7 separate regions of the Homo sapiens genome follow, and regions 2, 3, 4, 5, 6 and 7 are each linked to region 1. Evidence: promoter capture Hi-C in 16 types of primary human blood cells and fetal thymus (Javierre and others, 2016). All regions are on one chromosome and are shown on one strand. The core of a region is centred on a gene start or on the middle of the fragment in contact, and the rest is flanking DNA. Distances in the headings are between cores, read along the strand shown.

Region 1 (2,700 bases), core at 111-2,610:
TCCTGACCTCAGGTGATCCACCCGCCTCGACCTCCCAAAGTGCTAGGACTACAGGCGTGAGCCACCGCGCCCGACCATTTTATTTTCAATCAGATGTCTTTATCATCACATAGCTGAAAATAAAATAACCAAATAAAACACAATGATCGAAAAAGATAAAACACTAATTAGCATAATCAGTGTTCTTTTTCCACTACCTCTTAAATGGTTGTACATAAAAAGGCTCACACACAAAAATACACACACATACATTCACTTACACCTCGTGAGTGGAAGAAAACTACCGGGGGAAAAAAAACGTAGAGATGAGAGATTAGATGAGGGAAACAGCAGTGCAAGCAGTTGGGCTTGAAAATTCATTCATTCAACAAATATTTTGAAGCCCCTATTTTAAGTCAGTTGTTTTTCCAGCTGGTGGGCAAAGGATAATGAACAAGTCAGACTCTGTGCCCTCAAAGAACTTAGAGTTTTAAACGACTCGAATGGGGAAAGAAAGTAAAAAATAGGGCAAAAGACGCCGATTTTATCATGAATAAAATTTCACATTTCTTCAACAGGAAAATGATACTAATTCATTTATTTTATATATACATTCTCTCAAGAGGTTATTTTTGTCTCAAATAGATAGAAACCAGGACAGGGATCCTTGAAAAGCAGCCACTGACAATCCTCAAGTAACTTCCTTCCTCTGCTTCACTTTCTCCTACTGCTCAAGGGGGTGTTACACTTTGACGACTGACTAAACCTCGAGGGCCAGAAACAAACCAAAGCAAAATTCTGCCTCCAAGGTGAGTAATGGAGGGGCGGATTCTAGATTCTCTAACCTCCTTTAGCCTTCCTTTGAGGCAGTGACAGAGCGATTACTAAGCCTACGGTTCCCAAACGACTCAGGTGAACCTGATTTACAGGAAAGGCGGGCTGTAGCTAGGGATGGAGACAGTACCTATCAGCAAGCGGCTCCACAGCTCGGTTCTCTATCTATTCTGAAGACATGCGGGGCCACTCACTGCTCCTGATAGTCCTCTACCTCCCACAGACCCCACCCACTACGACACGGAAAACTGGATTACCCAAATACCTGCCTCTGAGTCTGGGGACGCAGGCAAGCACAAAGACAAGGGGGATGGAGCTTCTACACAGGGCCCCAGCGCTGTCGCTGTGGCTGCTGCTGCCGCTACGGCTTAGTGCACCAGACGCTGCATTTCAGGTGCTCCTACAAAAGAGGCCACTCCTGGAACGCCGGGAGCTCAGACGCTGCCCTTTGCTCGCGAGCCAAGTCAGCCAAGGTTAACCTTCGCGGAACCCGGCGAGGAGCGCAAGCCTGGCCTTCCCCAAACACAGATCCGAGCTTTTCACCCTCTACCCTCCCCTCAGCCTGGCCTTTTCTTCCGCCCTCACAGCCACCGCGACCCAACGCTGAGGAAAGACCCCGACTTGTGGTGTCCTTCCCCTTGCCCAAACTGGCCACGAAAGGACATATAGCGAGAGAGAAAGAGGTGCGGGGGGACGGGGGGGGTCGATTGAAAATACTGGGTGAGGGAATGGAAGACGAGGAGCGTGGTATGGCAGGTTAATGGGACTGAGCACAGGAAGAGGAAGAAAGAATTGAGGGTTGAATCTGTAGAACACTCAGGCTTTCAGCAAGGACACCTCATTGGGTCCTTTCTCACTGCTATAGTACGCGGGTGGCTGGACCTACATGCTTCCTGCTGTGGCTGTCTCGGAACCCGTGGTCCTCCGCTTCATGTGAGTGACGTCGTGGCGGGTCACTCACTCGGGGATCGCCGATTGCGATCGTAGGGGTCTTCCTTCTCTAACTTGCCTCCAGGAGAGAGGACCTGGCCTGCGCTGCTAATGGGTAGTCCGTTCGCAGCAGGACCAGCCCTGGCCTAAGGAAACAGGAAAGAGTTTGAGACTTCCTTCTAAAGGAGCCACGTTTGAGAAATGGGATGCAGGCCTAAGTTAAGAATGCTACAGAAAAATATCGATCCCTAAGCGTATTTACTGTTATGTGAATGTGTGTGTCAAAGGACTTAGGTGCTTTGGGGGAGAGGAGGGTGAAGACAGGAATTTATTCATTGAGCGAATAGTTATTAAGCGCCCACTCTATTCCAGACACCGTTCTAGGCATTAGGTGAACAGCAGTGAACAAAACAGACGGAAATCTGTGTCTACTTGTAGCTCACATTTTAGAGAGGAAGGCACATACTAAGCAAAGTAATTAGAAACATACTGTATTTTAGGTCGTGATAGTCCTGAAGAGAAACGTAAAGCAGGGAAGAAGGGTATAAAGTGACACAGGAAGGTCTTGCTGAAAAGATGACTTTTAAGTAAAGGGCTGACAGAAGTGGGAGATTTAACCACGCGAATATCTTGGGAAAGTGCAGTCAGACAGAGGGACCAGCCATTGCAGAGGTCATGAAGCAGAAACGTGCTAGAATAGCAAGGAGGCCTGTAGGGCAGAGTTGAGTGAAGGGTTTAGTCCTTCACTGGAGATTAAATCAAGGCGAGCAGGTCATGAAGATCTTGAGGACATCTAACTTTTATTCTAAATGAAATAGGACTTTGGAGCGTTTTGAGCAGTAGAGTGATGGGCTCTGACTTCCTTTTAAGAGGGTCACTCTTTAAGGAAAATACACAGAGGAGGACGTGGTAGGAGAAAGGAGACCAATAAGAAGAGTTTTGCAATAATCCAGAGGA
Region 2 (2,700 bases), core at 141-2,640, 1.6 Mb after region 1:
GTCATTCATGGAGAAGAAAATAATCACACATTCCATGATTCTGATTTTCATTGTTCACAAGAGGACAAAGTCACTCATGAAAAGCAGACCCCTTTCTGTCACTAGGTCTCCTTATGCCTTCACAAGACAGAAGCCTAAGGTAATATCCTCAACTGGAGTTTGCTAGACATTGCAACAGCAAGGTGCGGTAAGTAGGTTTTGAATCTGCTGATGACAAATGCCCCTCCTCCAAGATAAATTTTGTAAAAGCAATTCATTGGGGTGAAGTGAATAGGATAAGATAATAAGGTTCAAAGAGTAAGTTACAGGAGATAGTCCAGGCTTTATCCTTAGATTATCTAGAAATGATGGAGCATAGATCAGAATAGTTTTTCTGCCACCTCCACCCAGACCTTGGATGAAAAGCTCATCACAGTGACGTTCCCATCATCCTGTGGAAACACTGGCATGCTGATTTTGCTGGCCATATAGCTTCAAAGTCTGCCCTTATCTAGAATGCATCGTGCAAGAAACTAACGTGAACTCTTGTTCATCGTGCAAGGGACTAACAGGAACTTTTACTAAGGGGCTAATTCATTCTGGGTTCCATTTGTTTTCTTCATACAAAAGCTCTTGAGTGTGCCTCCTACGAGAGGATAAAACTCTCTGGGCATTTTTGAAAGTACTGAGGATAGTGAAGTTTTTTAAAGTAGTACTCTGTCTCTTACTCCAATAAGGAATCAATAGGCACTTTACAACTGCAGTTAAAGTGGCATTTTCAATCACACTAATCATGGGCAAGTTTCCTAAGTAATTAAAACCACTTTAAAACAAAAAAGAATGGTGATCATTCATGCTTGGTTTGAGATCTCTACCTCACAGCTGTTGATTTTAGAATTAGAATGTAGTGGTGTGTCCAAACAAGTTTTGCCACCAGGATTAGATGCTAGTCTCACTAGAAAGTGAATTTAAATTCGCTTACTTCAACCCCCATCTCATCCCCACCACATTTAAAGATAGAAAAGTATCTATATGATCTATATGTCTACTTAACGACAGACTCAGCTTCAAGTCTGTAAGGTTTTTTGATTGCAGGTCATTACAGTCTTGACCCTGCGTAATGCCTTCAGTCTCTCCAGATGATCATGCTATTAAGAGGTCGCCACAACTTTTGATAATATTCATCTTCCCTGATATTTTGAATCTCCTGCTGAGACACAGGAAGACAGGAAACTAGACTATGTTCACCAACCATTTGAGTGATTCTGTGTGCCATACACTAGAGCTGCTGATACATAAAATTCCTGACATTTAAGTGGAAATGTCTGCACTATAAGACTCGCCCATAACTCCTAAGTCACATCATAAGAATTTCAATTGCATAAAATATATGCAAGTCTTAGGAAATGTTTGTAAGTTTTAGGAAATGTTGGTCAGGGCCTTCATAGCCAGCTAGATGTTTCAGAAGTGGAAGTGAATTGCTTTTCTGGATGCATTGTCACTGAATTTTACCATTCTTTTCTATTTAATATTTTAGCAAAATTGCACAATAGACATCAAATTTTATCTCATCCAAAGGTTGGGAGAGGTCATATTTTATCTCATCCAAAGGTTGGGAGAGGTCATGTTTTATCTCATCCAAAGGTTGGGAGAGGTAATGTGCCATGGGCTCTGAGCATCCATCCAGCACATTTTTTGCTGGGCATGCTGAGTGCAAGGCCCTAACTCCTGTTACCCAGGCCATTTCTCAGGATTGTATTTGCAGTAAGCAATGTTAAGTAATGAGGTAGCATATCACCCTAAATAAAGAGAAGTCTTTTTTTCTGTTTACTGTAAAGCAGTAAAAATGCGAAGCTCAGTGGTCCTCAGTTGAGGTGAAAACCCACTGCATATGTAACATCTGTCTTCACCTCTCCAAGTCATCCCCATGGGATTTGAGAGACAAGGGAGCCAAAGGGACCATGCTGACACTTTGGATACTGCTATGCTATGTGTAGTGAAGTCCTTTGTCTCTGACTCAGGAGTCTTGTGTCTTCTAGCATCCAATGAAACAGGAACAGGCTAACTTGTGGGCTTGTAAGTAAAGTCATAGATGCTTCACGAATTGACATGTAAATTTTATTTTCTTCTAATAAATAAGAATATCAGAAGCATAATACTGTATTAAGTTAGGATAGTAATGGATTATGTATTACTGTGTGTGTATATAGATATATGTATATAATGCACATTTAATCCATATGTGGCACCCGTAATCAAACATAGCATTTTACAGTTAACGCTTGGCATACATTTTTTAATCTAAGTTAGGATAGTAATGGATTATGTATTACTATGTGTATGTATATAGATATATATATATATAAAATGCACATTTAATCCATATGTGGCACCTGTAATCAAACATAGCATTTTACAGTTAACGCTTGGCATACATTCTTTAATCTTCACAAAACCCTGTGAAGTAAGCAAGGCAAGAGAAGGTGACCCCATTTTATGACATGAAAGGGTTCATAAATGTTAGAGCTAGAACTTGAGTTTTGTTTTTGTGGGCTGTAGCTTGCTGCCTCCCTGTCGTAATTACTATGGTCACCATCACAGTTAGGGTTTTGTTAGGAAATTAGTTTCAGAAGCAAACTGTCCTTGGGACAGGTTCTTTGTCACATGCTACAGATTTTTCTTAAAATTACAATTTACTAATTTCAAAGGGGAGAAAAGTTG
Region 3 (2,700 bases), core at 175-2,674, 1.6 Mb after region 1:
GAGGTGGAGTCTTGCTCTGTAGCCCAGGCTGGAGTGCAGTTGCAAAATCTCAGCTCACTGCAAGCTCCGCCTCCCAGGTTCATGCCATTCTCCTGCCTCAGACTCCTGAGTAGCTGGGATTATAGGCGCCTGCACCACACCTGGCTAATTTTTTGTATTTTTATCAGAGGGGGTTTCACTGTGTTAGCCAGGATGGTCTCGATCTCCTAACCTCATGATCCGCCCACCTCAGCCTCCCAAATTGCTGGGATTACAGACGTGAGCCACCGTGCCTGGCCCATGTACATGTATTTTTAGAAATATATTTGCCTCCTTAAAATGGAATAATTTTCATAATTTTAAAAATTGCTTTTTATCACTTAAAGTATTATGAGCATATTTTCATATTATTAAATATTCTCCTGTAAAGTTCTTAGGAGCTGTATAATATCTGTTTGTGAGAATGTATCAATGTCAATTTAGTCTATACTTTATTTGGTTTGAGTTGGATTTTTATGTTTCCACTGTCTAGCACCTGTTCCTTGGACAAGAATACCTGCTTCTTCTGAGGAATTCCTTTTTTCTGACCTCAGTCCCTTTTACCCTTAACTGTGGTTGAACGGCAGATGCCATATCTTTACATAAACTCACCTTCTTGGCCACAGTGATAAGTAAGTTGAGGGACATACTGACCAAAAGTAGACTGATCAGAATTTCTAACCTTTTTGTAACTGGTTAATCTGTAGGCCAGGCACAGAACTCAACAATTCACAACTATACATCAATCCTCACATAGTTTTGGGATAAGAATAGCATGGCATAGTTAGAAACCTCAAGCCATAAAATAAATTTAAGTTATCTCAAGTTGGTATCACCGCAGGACACCTTACTGAAGCATTTGAATCCTTCCCCAGAATTTCTCAGGTTGAATCTAGAAAATAGAGGGCTTTTCCTTTTGGTGGTGAAACTGGGAAAATAGGCATCTCAGGATAGCTCATTTTTCATTGAAAAGCTGGTTTGCAGTTGGAAAGAATGAAGTCAGAGAGAGAGGAGGGAAAAATAGGTACAGGGAGGAAGAGTTCTGTGACAGTATTCCCTGAGGTGGCAATACCCTTTCCTTCCTGTTTGTTCATTCCATAGCCTAACTGGCCTGTTTGATGAACTAGCTTGAGGGTATATTTTTGTTATTCTGAAGCAAAAGAGTCCTGATTTTTGCTTCGGAGCCATTTTGCTAGACCAAATATTTCTAAAATACAAATTTGTAGTTTAAAAATGGTTAGATGATAAGATCGAGGACCTAACAAAGGAAAAATAATGTTTTTTGATAAATAGGACAAAGCAGAGATGCTATATATGATATATTAAATAAGGAGAGGGCCAGGCACGGTGGCTCATGCCTGTTAACCCAGCACTTTGGGAGGCCGAGGCAGGTGGATCACCTGAGGTCAGGAGTTCAAGACCAGCCTGGCCAACATGGTGAAGCCCCATCTCTACTAAAAATACAAAAATTAGCCGGGTGTGGTGGCATGCGCCTGTAGTCCCAGCTACTCGAGGCTGAGGCAGGACAATCGCTTGAACCCAGGAGGCGGAGGTTGCAGTGAGCCGAGATCGCGCCACTGCACTCCAGCCTGGGTGACAGAGTGTGGCTCCGTCTCAAAAAAATAAATAAAAATAGGGAGAGAGGGTAGGTGGGATTGGTATCAAATCCTGAAGCTGGTGTGGAAGACCATATCTATCCAAGAGAAGAGGAGGCCCACCAACACTTGGCCTCTGAATACTCTGCAGCAGAAGACTTGGTCATGGTTAAAGACAGGAGGAATGATTAAACTTTTGTAGCCTAGGAAATAGTTTATGGGCCTTTATTACACAAAAGGAGAGTTCTGGTTTCAGGAGTGGTTAAGACATTTCCATTCCTTCTTTGTCTCAACAATCACATACCATACCAGAGGAATGTTGAACAGAAGAACACACTCTATCCACATTGAAATGAAATGACACATCTACATTTCTGCACCACAACATCTGAAGACAAAGTGGCTATATGATTGGCAAATGACTTAATAGAGTGGAGGATGACTACACTTAAGCATCTACAGAGGGGAATGCCAGTGGAGTATGAGAGGACAGAATGAGAACTACTCCCCTAGTTTACCATGCAGAATCTCAAAACGGGTTAGAAATTGGAGGTACCAGTGATCATAGGAGACAGAAATGAGCCAGTAGACTGAGAACAAGGATAGTTTGGAATGCACATAAAATAAGATCAGGTCCTTATCACTGCCCCCACCCCTGCAGAAAATAGTAGGTAGATGATCTAGAGAGCCTTGGCTGGGGGATGGGGGGTGGGGAAGAGATATGGCCTGGCAAAATGAAAAGTTGCTTCTAGACAAAGACAGAACTCTTGAAGTGCTTCAACTGGGTGAAAGTTTGACAGAGAACACTCAACAACCCTGGCCACCGACAAAAGAAAACAAGGACATTTGTCTATCTTGGCCTGGACCTTAGCATAGAAAATGTTTTCCTACCCCTACTCTAAGTGGCAACTATATACTTGACGCTGCCATTTCTTCTTTTTTTTCCTTTTTTTTTTTTTAGACAGAGTCTCACTGTGTCACCCAGGCTGGAGTCCATTGGCGTGATATCAGCTTACTGCAGCCTTGACCTCCCAGGCTCAAGTGATCCTTTCACCTCAGCCTCCCGAGTAGCTGGAACTACAGGCTT
Region 4 (2,700 bases), core at 94-2,593, 1.2 Mb before region 1:
GTAGTTCTTAAGGATAGTAATGGTACCAAAGCCAGCAGCAATAGAATATCTCCCAAGCCAACTTTACAATTGGAGCCTTCACTGTGGGAAAGACCAGTTGCCAAGTAGAGCTGGTGGTTATCTGGGAAACTGTGCTGAAGAACACAACCACAAATGATTTTGCCAAATATACAGTATTTACTTGGTCTAGATCTCCAATTTCTATTTCTACTCACTGCCAAAACTGAGTGAATACTGTGACATTATTGAAGGAGGTTATGCAGTACATCTGTTGGTTTGGTATATAGTAGGAGAGAAGGGTTCCAGGAGGGAAAGGGGAAAGTCAGAGCATGTGAATCACTGTGACTACAATCCAAAAAGAATTATGTATGTCTGCTATTTCCAGCATTATTTTTGTCCTATATTGTACATTGCAGAGACTTGCTGACTTAAAATAGATATATAATCTTTTTCTCAAAAGAATAGATATTTGGTTGTCCATTCCAAATAACAAATTTTGGATGGGCGTGGTGACTCATGCCTGTAATCCTAGCACTTTGGGAGGCCAAGGTGAGAGATCACTTGAGGCCAGGAGTTTGAAACCACCCTGGGCAACACAGTCAGGCCCCAGTCTCTACAAAAAATTTAAAAAGTTAGTGGGGCATGGTGGTACATTCCTGTAGTCCCAGCTACTCAGGAGACTGAGATAGGAGGATGGATTGAGCTCAAGTGTTCTAACTTATAGTGAGCTCTGATCACACCACTGCGCTCCAGCCCAGGCAAGAGGGAGAGACCCTATCTCAAACAGCGACAACAACAAAACCAAACAAACAAAAAAGCACATTCTATCAGCTTTGATTTATGTTTTCTTCATTTGTAATGACATGTAGTTAAATGTGTCATACTTCAAAAAGAAGAAACAGATAGTAGGTGGATTTTCAATATAATATATATTAGATATAGATAATATATATTTTCAATATATAATATATGTAAAAATAAATTCAGTGATAATATCATCCTACCTGCAGTTTTAAGAATTCAGAACTCAGGCCAGGTGTGGTGGCTCATTCTGGGAGGGGAAGGCAGGAGGATCACTTGAGGCCAGAAGTTCTAGACCAGCCTGGGCAACATAGTGAGATACCTGTCTCTATTCAATAAAAATAAAAATAAAAATAATTCAGAACTCAATGCTTTATACTCACTGAAAGTTGTTCCTCTAAACTGACTTGAAATCATGTTCCAAATAAACTGAGAATTAAAGTAAGAGACGAGGCCGGTTGTGGTGGCTCATGCCTGTAATCCCAGCACTTTGGGACGACAAGGCAGGTGGATGACCTGAGGTCAGGAGTTTGAGACCAGCCTGGCCAACATGGTGAAACCCTGTCTCTACTAAAAATACAAAAATTAGCCGGGCATGGTGGCACACACCAGTAATCCCAGCTACTCAGGAGGCTGAGGCCCGAGAATCACTTGAGCCTGGGCATGGTGGCTCATACCTATAATCCCAGCACTTTGGGAGGCCGAGGCAGGTGGATCACCTGACGTCAGGAATTCGAGACCAGTCTGGCCAACATGGTGAAACCCCATCTCCACTAAACATACAAAATTAGCTGGGTGTGGTGGCACATGCCTGTAGTCTCAGCTATTCTGGAGGCTGATACAGGAGAATTGCTTGAACCCTCCCGGGAGGCAGAGGCTGCGGTGAGCCGAGATGGCTCTGCTGCACTCCAGCCTGGGCGAGGCAGAGAGACTCTGCCTCAAAAAAAGAAAAATAATAATAATAAATAGGAGATGAATAAATTGGGATAAAGTGTTTTTGAAGGACAGTCTAGGATATAAAATGAACTGGTTGTTTGACTAAAAATACTACAAATGTTTCTTTCAAATTACATTTCTTTTTTGTCTATTGGAAGGTAGGCACTGATTTCTATGTCTTTCTATTCCCTAATAGAACCTACTGTTGACCTCTCAGTCAATATTTAATGGATGATATAGAACTAGTGAAAAACCATGCAATTTAACTAGAAAAAAAAAGTATAATCTATTTTCTTTTCCTTTTTCTTTCTTTCTTTCTTTCTTTTTTTTTTTTTTTTTGAGACGGTATCTTGCTCTGTCACCTAGGCTGGAGTGCAGTGGTGTGATCTCGGCTCACTGCAACCTCTGCCTTCCAGGTTCAAGTGATTCTCTTTCTCAGCCCCCAGAGTAGCTGGGACTAGGAGCGTGCCCCACCACACCTGGCTAATTTTTCTATTTTTATTAGAGACAGGGTTTCACCATGTTGGCCAGGCTGATCTCGTACTCCTGGTCTCAGGTGATCTGCCTGCCCGGGTCTCCCAAAGTGCTGGGATTACAGGCATGAGCCACTGCACCTGGTCTAATCTATTTTCAATGTATAAGAGAAAAATAGTGTTAAGTGTCTTGGTGATGGTGATGATGGTAGGAGTAATGGTGTGTTTTCCTTACATTTAATTTCTACAGGCTATGGCAATTGCCCTATAAAAGCCACCCATTTTAAGCACAAAAGTGAATGGTTTTTAGTAAACTTATATGGGATCATATATTTTTAATTGAAATATTTTTTGAGTTAATTATAGATTCATATGCCATTGTATGAAATAATACAGAGAGATTCCACGTATACTTGCTCAATTTCCCCCAGTGGCAACACTTTGCAAAACTATAATATCATATCACATCACATGCAAAACTATAATATCA
Region 5 (2,700 bases), core at 21-2,520, 1.7 Mb after region 1:
TCATCTAAAGTTGGTGTTGGCAAAGAGAAGATAAGTGTTTAGGGTGTTGGATATCCCAGTTACCCTGATTTGATCATTACACATTTTAGGCAGGTATCAAAATGTCACATGTACCCCAAAAGTATGTACAGCTATTACATATCAGTTTTTTAAAGAAGAAAAGGTTGGTATGGTTAGCTTTTCTATTTCAAGTGTATCATTCATCTTTCACATCTGGGATTTCTCCTATGCTCTGGTTGGTTAATAACTTTTATTCTGAAATCGGTGAGATTCTTATGACATGAAATAGTCTATAACCAGTTAAGTTTTTATTTCTCTGTTCTGTTCACATCCTGGGGACTGGGCTGCCATTACATAACTGAGCAGCCATTGGTGGTTCACACCAGCGCCACACCCAGTTATTTTCTTTCAGTATTTGAATTCCTGCACAAAAGATCTGCTGTATCTGCAAATCACTAGAGGCACAAAAGAAGTGATTACCTCTACTAAGGGTTGGGAGAAGTTTCACTAAAGGAGAGATGGTGTCCATGTTAGATTATGAAGGGTAAGTTGAAGTCCATGAAGCAGCAATGAGGGAGCCGGACATGTATGGCAGAGGAAACCACATGAACAAGGGCACAGAGCCATGAGATAGCACAGAGGAGGGAGACGTGTGGTGTGGCTGGGGAAGACTACAGAATCGGGTTACTACCGTCCAAAGCATTTGTTATTTAGCAGTTATTGACCAGCTATCATATTCAAGGCATGTGATAAGTACTAAGGGCTACAAAGACCAAATCAATTTCTGCCATTAAGGGATTTTAAATCTAAGAGCAGAGATTAGACAGAGATCTAAATGACACAGTTTACTTTGGTGTAAAGTAGTACAATAAGAGCAGTAAAAATCTAGTTCTGAGGTTTCAAAATAGAAAGTACATTCATTTGGAAAAAGGCTTCATGGAGAGGGTAGCATTTGAAATGGGCCTGAATAATGGATAGAACATTTCTGGACAGCAGTTAATGGTTGGGATTAAGGAAAAAGTGTTGTCCAGAAAATGGTGACCTACAGAATAGTGGTACCAGTAATGAAGGCCAAGGAGAATTGATTTTAGGGTCAAGGTGATAACTGCAGCTTAGATAGATTATTTTGGTTTCAGGCACAGTTGGAAGTATGAGAACGATTGGAATTTCAGAAGGAAATTATATTGGAAACAGAACCTTGAAGGAAGTCCTTGTTTATAGGCTTAGAAGATCAAGAGAGGTCAATTAATATGGCTAAAAGGAACAGACAGATAAGAAACTGAAGAGTTTCAAAAATGAAACTTTTATTGGCAATGTACAGAGCTGTTGTAGAAGATGAAGCCAAAGAACAGGCATTGACTTTAGCAATTTAGTAGACCATTGATAAGTTACAGTAGTCCCCCCTTACGAGGGGAGGGAGTACATTCCTAGACCCTCAGTGGATGCGTGAAACTGCAGATAGTACCAAATCCTATACATACTATGTCTTTTTGATCTGATAACCCAGTCAACTACCAAGTGACTAATGGATTGGGTAGTATACAGTGTGGATATGCTGGACCAAGGGATGAGTCTCCTCCCAGACAGGACAATTCAAGATTGCATCACACTACTCAGAATGACATGCAATTTAAAACATGCATCATTTATTTCTATAATTTCCCATTTAATATTTTTGGACCATAGTTGACTGTTGGTAACTGAAACTACAGAAAGTAAAACCACAGATAAAGGGGGGACCAACTGTATCTAATTTCATGCAGCAGTGGTGGTGGAAGAAGCTACTCTGATAGGAATGTTTGTGTTCCCTCCAAAATTTATGTCGAAGCTGAATCCCCAGTGCAGCAGTATTAAGAGATAAGGCCTTTAGGAGGTGATTAGGTCATGAGGGTTCTGTATTCATGAACAGCTTAGTGCCATTTAAAGGGGCTTGAGAGACCAACTTTGCCTCTTCTCCCTTCTGCCATATGAGGACACAGTGCTCGTCCCCTCCAGAGCAGGGGTCCCCAACTTCTGGTCCGTGGCCCATTAGGAACCGGGCCACATAGAAGGATGTGAGCAGCTAGCAAGACTTCATTTGTATTTACAGCTGCTCCCCATCACTTGCATTGCTACCTGAGCTCTGCCTCCTGTTGGATCAAGAGTTGCATTAGATTCTCATAGGAGCATGAATCCTATTGTGAACTGTGCATGTGAGGGATCTAGGTTTCGTGTCCTTGTGAGAATCTAATGCCTGATGATCTGTCACTGTCTCCCATTATCCCCACATGGCACCATCTAGATGCAGCAGAACAAGCTCAGAGCTCCCACTAATTCTGTATTGTGGTGAGATGTATAATTATTTCATTATATATTACAATGTAATAATAATAGAAATAAAGTGCACAATCAATGTAATGCACTTGAATCATCCCTAAACCATCCCCTCTTCCCTGCAAGACGGTAGAAAAATTGTCTTCCGTGAAATTGTCTCCCATGTCTTCCTGGTGCCAAAAAAGGTTGGGGACCTTTGCTCCAGAGCATGCAGCAGCAAGGCACCATCTTGGAAGCAGAGAACAGCCCTCACCAGACACTGAACATGCTGATGATCTTGATCTCTGTTGTTTATACATTACCCAGTCTTTGGTATTTTGTTATAGCAGCACTAACAGACTGAAATAAGCCATATTACTAGAGTTTAGGAATTTAATGGCTCAGGAG
Region 6 (2,700 bases), core at 52-2,551, 1.4 Mb after region 1:
ACCTAGATGCTCAGCATATGGGTGCTGGCCTGGAACCTGGGTCCACAGAAATGGTCTTACAGCCTGGGTCAATGGGAGCTGGTATAGTGCTGAGATGTATTGGGATGGTCCTGAAACCTTGGATCTCTTAAGTATGGGGTTGCAGCAGCCAGCCTGGAGGGTGGGGCTACAGGGAATGGCCTTGTACTGGGGCAGACCTGAAGCCCAGGGCTGTGTGGGCCAACCTGGCTCTCAGCTGGTCTGAAACCTGGAGAGGGCCTGAAGCTGGGACAGCTTGAAGCCTGTATCCACAGGTGCCTGCCTGTGACAGCCAGCCTGGTACTAAAGGTAGCTCTAAGCCCAGGGCCACTGGGGCCAGCCTGGCCCTAAGACAAGTCTAAAACTTGCATCAATTGGGTCTGGCCTGGTGGTGGAGGTTGGAGGAGCTGGAACCTTGGGCTGCAGAATCCTGCTTAGTACCAGGGTAGGCTTGGACGCTCAATCCATAGGTACCATCCTGGAGTCTGGGGCTACGGGGGCCTGCCTTGCACTGAGTTTCACTGAGGTGGGCCTGGTGTTGGGTTCTGAGGCAAAATCTTTTGCTTACTGCCCTCTTCCTCCCCTAAGCAAAGGGTATCTTTCTCCACGTGCTGCCTGAGGTTGCAGGCTGGGGGCAGTAATATAGGTCATGTAAAACTGTTCTTTCTACTCTCTTCAATGTGTTTTTTCTGATTTCTCTGCTACATCCAGGTGCGGTCATCTCTCACCTGGTTTCCTTAGCTTTTATTAAAGTATTTTTGTGCAAGAATAGTTGTTCAATTTATGTTTCTGTGTGAAGACAAGCACTGGGAAGTCCCATTCTGTCATTTTGCTGACCTCCACCAATACACAGATTTGACTTTTAAGGAATTAAATTTCTATACAAATCTTCAACTTCCATGAGATTAAGGATCTCTTTTCCTACCTTCCCCTTCACAATCCTGTACAGCAGAAATGCCATCTCCCACACATCTGAATCTTATTATCATCATTACCATTACCTGAAAAATCCTCTGGGACCAAAGGGACAATTTGACAACTCTTTTTAATAGGTATGCCACAAAAGCTGCACCCCTTCCCATCTACTCATCTCATTAACAATAATTATTTACACAATAATTATTAATACTTTATTTCCAATAAAATACTTTTACATATTTAATAATCACTTACAAAAAATTGTAATGAGTCTCTAGATTCATTTCTTTTCAATAAACTGATGAAGCAAATACAACTTACCAGCTCTACATTTCCAAGAACTTAAAAAAGAGGGCTTCAGAAGTAGACATTTGTATATCTTGAGAAGCAGTGGCACCTCTTTAGCTTTAGCTCCCATTGATACTGGCTAAGGAGGAAAAGGGAGCTAAAGTCTCTGCTAAAAGGGAATTGCAGAGGGTGCTATACACATTTTGCTGCCTATACTGGTAGAACCTGTTTGGCTTGGTCATTTTGTTTGAGGATTTTTCCAAGTTACTTCACTCTTTATAGACAAGAAGAAACATATATCTAATGAATTTTAATTGATTTGGGCTCTGTAAAATATCTTCTGCTTTTCTTATCAAATCAAGCTAGAATGCATAAAAATTATCTGTCAAGCTATCAACTGCTGAGAATATGGCTGAGAAAAAATACAGACAGGGTAAGTAGAGACCGTCTGTTTTAATCTCTAAAAAGAATGCTCCCTCAGTTTCTTGCCTCCTACATTTAAAAAGATTCTGGCAGCAAACATAGTACTCTGGATATAAGGAGATTTTTTTTGGTTTATGTATGTTTGATATTGTTAAATCAAGTTAAGCCTAAAGCTACCTCTTTTACATATTTTAAGTTCAGCCTAAAGGTTTCTCCATATGTACTAAACTAACCTAGCTGGAGACAAACAGACTGTATCCACCCTTGTGCCAATGACTGAGTTTTGGCCAATCAAATGTGGCCAACTGTTCAAACCATGTTCAAATAAGTCAAATGCTGAGCTATAACCAATCCAGTTGTTTCTGGACCTCACTTCCATTTTCTGTGCACCACTTTCCTTTTTCTGTCCATAAATCTTCTACCATGCAGCTGCACTGGAGCCTCTGAGCCTACTCTGGCTCAGGAGGCTGCCTGATTCACGAATTGTTCTTTGCTCAAACTCTTTTAAATTTAATTCAGCTAAAGTTTTTAACAATATTTTTCATATTAAAAAATAAACTTAAAAAAAATTGCCACATTGTCCTAACTCCCAATTTTTCAAAGTAAATCAAAGAGCACTTTTATAAAACTACTGGAATTGAAACAGCCTTTGCAAAAATTACAAGTGAGAAAATTGTTAACAGTGAAAAAGATCTGATCTAACCAACCTCCATCTTGCCTTTAACCTCCAAACTGCCCTTAGGTATTGCTGGGTTTGGGTCAAGCTAACTTTGGGAGAAATTTAGTTTTTAGTTTAAATGATAATACTACTTCCCCAAAAGTAAACCATCTTTTAAAGCTAATAAAAGACCACCAGGTTAGGAGATGAGAGGAGCCTGAATCCTCCCAAGGTGTAAACATAAATGATTACCAGCCACTATTCCAGAAGTCACAAGATTTTCAACTTCCCCAGTTACTCCTGCAGATGACATCGCTATTGTAGAACCTAAGATTGGCCTTTTGAGATGTCTTTTCAGGTTTTTGCATTTCTGACTCTCAATGGCTCCACCTGGA
Region 7 (2,700 bases), core at 29-2,528, 1.4 Mb after region 1:
ACTTCTCAATTTCAATGTAAATTAGATGCAATAATGCCACTGCAGTACCTAACACAGGGCCTAGCACACAGTAAGAGTTCAACTGGTAAGTTACTGTTGATGGTCTCCATCTCTGCCTGTGATGGTTAATACTGTGTGTCAACTTGATTGGATGGAAAGGATACAAAGCATTGATCCTGGGTGCATCTGTGAGGGCGTTGCCAAAGGAGATTAACATTTGAGTCAGTGGGCTAGGAAACCCAGACCCATTCTTAATCTGGGTAGGCACCATCTAATCAACTACAAGCATCACTAGAATATAAGCAGGCAGGAAAATGTGAAAAGAGAGACTGGCCTAGCCTCCCAGCCTACATCTTTCTCCGGTGCTGGATGCTTCCTGCCCTCGAACATCAGACTCCAAGTTCTTCAGTTTTGGAACTCAGACTGGCTCTCCTGGATCCTCAGCCTGCAGATGGCCAACTGTGGGACCTTGTGATCATGCAAGTTAATACTTAATAAACTCATATATATATAAAATATATATACACACACACATATATATGTACGTATATTCCATTAGTTCTGTCCCTCTAGAGAACCCTAATATACTGCCCATGGCATTCGCTTTCAGCACACACATTTATATATTCTTTTACATAATGCTGGTTAATGTAGGACCCCTAACCTTCACCTCCCTACTCCAAACACATACTCTAAAGCTACATAAATTTGGTTATTATTCCTTGCTTTAAAGCAACATGGTACTTGATATATTCATCCCCTTCACCTCCCAATCTATATTTAGATTGTACTATGTGTCCTCCCATAGCCCACCTTTGGAAAACCTAACAAATGTCTTTGTGATAACAATGAAGTTAAATGAACTGAATTTGCTACCCCTGGATAGAGGGAGTTTGATATGAAAAGTACACATTATAGCAAGTCACTTTGCAATGAAGTACAGTGGGCAAATGCACAACTGGCATTTCTAAGGATGAACTTTGAGCTGAATGTCAGGTATTCACTGGTTTCTCCATGTGCCCTAATGCCCACTGGGATTCAACTTAGTGAGAAAAACAACCAAAAGAAAATAAAAGACAGATATAGTTGTGTGTCTATGTGTATTTCTTCCTCAATTGCATTTTTAAATTCTACATCATAGTATAAAAGAAGAGAAATAAATGAATCTATATATGCTCATTCTAGTCTATACACTATAAACAAAATAACAGTGGTGAAGACCAAAAATTAAGGTCCATGAGGCTGGAATGTTTATTGCTTAATTCACTGCCACATCCGCAGTGTCCACAAAAGTGCCTACCACATATAGCATTAACTATCTGTTAAATTAACTAAAAAGATCAACTAAGTACAACAGAGAAATATGCGTGCTTTCATTGGGAAGTGAAGTCATTTATTCAGAAAAGCATGTAACAAATATTGAAAAGGAGGGTGATACCAAAAGAAAGCTATCAAATTAAGGAGGCATTTGCATTTCTTCTTTTGTCACCACCCACCTTTAAGATAAAAATTAACAGTTTTTCAAAAGAAAATTTCTCTCTCCTAAATGAACATAACCAGAATCCCTTTCTGGATGTAGATTTAATTACATCTCACTTAAGTGTAAGGAGAACACTCCTGAAAGTAAAAGCCAGAGGTATAAGAAAATTACTGAAATTCTAGATGCAGAATCCAACATGTCCATGAACAAGTTTCTTCATTTCTCTGAAATACTTCAAAGGTTTACTGTATGAATAAAATCAAACAACATATGAAAAGAGCTTAGCACAAGGACCACTTGGAAAACTACCACAGTAATTCAGGTGAGAGACAGTTGGAAGCTAAATTAGGAAAAAAGGTCACTTTCCTCCAATTGAAATAAACAGAACAAGTTATTTTAAAAGACAACATACTATAAATATGTCCCTTATAATAAGGACTCAGCAAATGTTAATTTCTTATCTATCCTTCTTTTTCAAGGATAATATCCTTGAATGAAACTGTCCAATCATCAGATTGTCTAGCAAGCATAATACAGATTAGTATCCATATACAAGGAAGAGCAATTAGCATAGTCATTAATTAGGTACAAATAAATTAGGAGGAAGGCATTAACTAAGACTACAGAGATAAGACAAGCAATAGCACCAAAGAAAGAAAGAAAATACTACGGTGAACTTCATAAGGACAATAAATAAGAAAATATGCAGCATGGAACCAAACTATGAAGAACTGTGAACACAAATCATCTTTCCTCTTTATTTGATTTTTATTGATGCATTTTATTTTATTTATTTTTTATTTCAGACAGGGTCTCACTCTGTCATCCAGGCTGGAGGGCAGTGGCAGAATCATAGCTCTCTGCAGCCTCAAACTCCTGGGCTCAAGAGATCCTCGTGCCTCTGCCTCCTGAGTATCTGGGATGTGCCACCACACCTGACTACTTTTTAAAAAAAATTTTTGGAGACAAGGACAGGATCTCACTATGTTGCCCAGGCTGGTCTTGAACTCCTGGCCTCAAGCAATCTTCCTGCTTCAGTTTCCCAAAGTGCTGGGATTACAAGTGTGAACCACCACACCTGGCATATGCCAGGTATAAATCATCTCAATTCTATAAACAATGGAAAAATCAGTAAGTGTTTTAGAGCGAAAAAAAGGAAATGCTTAGACTACACTTTAGAAAGATTACTTTGTGAATATTATAGGACAGACTAAAGGGCA

The links. Contacts are between HindIII fragments. The CHiCAGO score rates a contact against its expected background, and 5 or more counts as called.
Region 2: a fragment that was not itself captured here is called in contact with the fragment with the promoter of TBCK in region 1 in 3 of 17 cell types (total B cells, naive B cells and naive CD8 T cells); the score reaches 7.2 in total B cells.
Region 3: a contact is called between a fragment that was not itself captured here and the fragment with the promoter of TBCK in region 1, in 1 of 17 cell types (total B cells). The highest score is 8.3, in total B cells.
Region 4: a contact is called between a fragment that was not itself captured here and the fragment with the promoter of TBCK in region 1, in 1 of 17 cell types (total B cells). The highest score is 6.0, in total B cells.
Region 5: a contact is called between a fragment that was not itself captured here and the fragment with the promoter of TBCK in region 1, in 4 of 17 cell types (total B cells, total CD4 T cells, naive B cells and 1 more). The highest score is 8.5, in total B cells.
Region 6: a fragment that was not itself captured here is called in contact with the fragment with the promoter of TBCK in region 1 in 7 of 17 cell types (total B cells, total CD8 T cells, naive B cells and 4 more); the score reaches 19.2 in total B cells.
Region 7: a fragment that was not itself captured here is called in contact with the fragment with the promoter of TBCK in region 1 in 1 of 17 cell types (naive CD8 T cells); the score reaches 6.4 in naive CD8 T cells.

Annotation. Positions count from the first base shown.
Region 1 is chr4:106,314,849-106,317,548 of GRCh38, forward strand. It overlaps TBCK (TBC1 domain containing kinase), which reads right to left and starts at 1,361. Exons shown (of 26, transcript NM_001163435.3): 1 at 1,083-1,361. AIMP1 (aminoacyl tRNA synthetase complex interacting multifunctional protein 1) reads left to right here and starts at 1,702. Exons shown (of 7, transcript NM_001142416.2): 1 at 1,702-1,746. RefSeq lists enhancers at 941-1,030, 1,111-1,170, 1,661-1,910. The HindIII fragment of the contact is 5,300 bases long and covers 1-2,700 here.
Region 2 is chr4:107,915,218-107,917,917 of GRCh38, forward strand. The region is part of intron 1 of CYP2U1-AS1 (CYP2U1 and SGMS2 antisense RNA 1); the gene reads right to left. The region is part of intron 1 of LOC107986298 (a long non-coding RNA gene); the gene reads right to left. Among named protein-coding and RNA genes, the nearest start is that of CYP2U1, 15 kb to the right of the region's middle. The HindIII fragment of the contact is 6,871 bases long and covers 1-2,700 here.
Region 3 is chr4:107,937,527-107,940,226 of GRCh38, forward strand. The region is part of intron 1 of CYP2U1 (cytochrome P450 family 2 subfamily U member 1); the gene reads left to right. All of the region lies in intron 1 of LOC107986298 (a long non-coding RNA gene), which reads right to left. Among named protein-coding and RNA genes, the nearest start is that of CYP2U1-AS1, 6.8 kb to the left of the region's middle. The HindIII fragment of the contact is 4,462 bases long and covers 1-2,700 here.
Region 4 is chr4:105,150,540-105,153,239 of GRCh38, forward strand. The region is part of intron 1 of TET2 (tet methylcytosine dioxygenase 2); the gene reads left to right. The region is part of intron 1 of LOC124900868; the gene reads right to left. Among named protein-coding and RNA genes, the nearest start is that of TET2, 5.0 kb to the left of the region's middle. The HindIII fragment of the contact is 9,556 bases long and covers 1-2,700 here.
Region 5 is chr4:108,000,166-108,002,865 of GRCh38, forward strand. All of the region lies in intron 1 of HADH (hydroxyacyl-CoA dehydrogenase), which reads left to right. Among named protein-coding and RNA genes, the nearest start is that of HADH, 12 kb to the left of the region's middle. The HindIII fragment of the contact is 2,945 bases long and covers 1-2,700 here.
Region 6 is chr4:107,706,987-107,709,686 of GRCh38, forward strand. All of the region lies in intron 1 of PAPSS1 (3'-phosphoadenosine 5'-phosphosulfate synthase 1), which reads right to left. Among named protein-coding and RNA genes, the nearest start is that of PAPSS1, 12 kb to the right of the region's middle. The HindIII fragment of the contact is 3,967 bases long and covers 1-2,700 here.
Region 7 is chr4:107,668,274-107,670,973 of GRCh38, forward strand. All of the region lies in intron 5 of PAPSS1 (3'-phosphoadenosine 5'-phosphosulfate synthase 1), which reads right to left. Among named protein-coding and RNA genes, the nearest start is that of PAPSS1, 51 kb to the right of the region's middle. The HindIII fragment of the contact is 3,792 bases long and covers 1-2,700 here.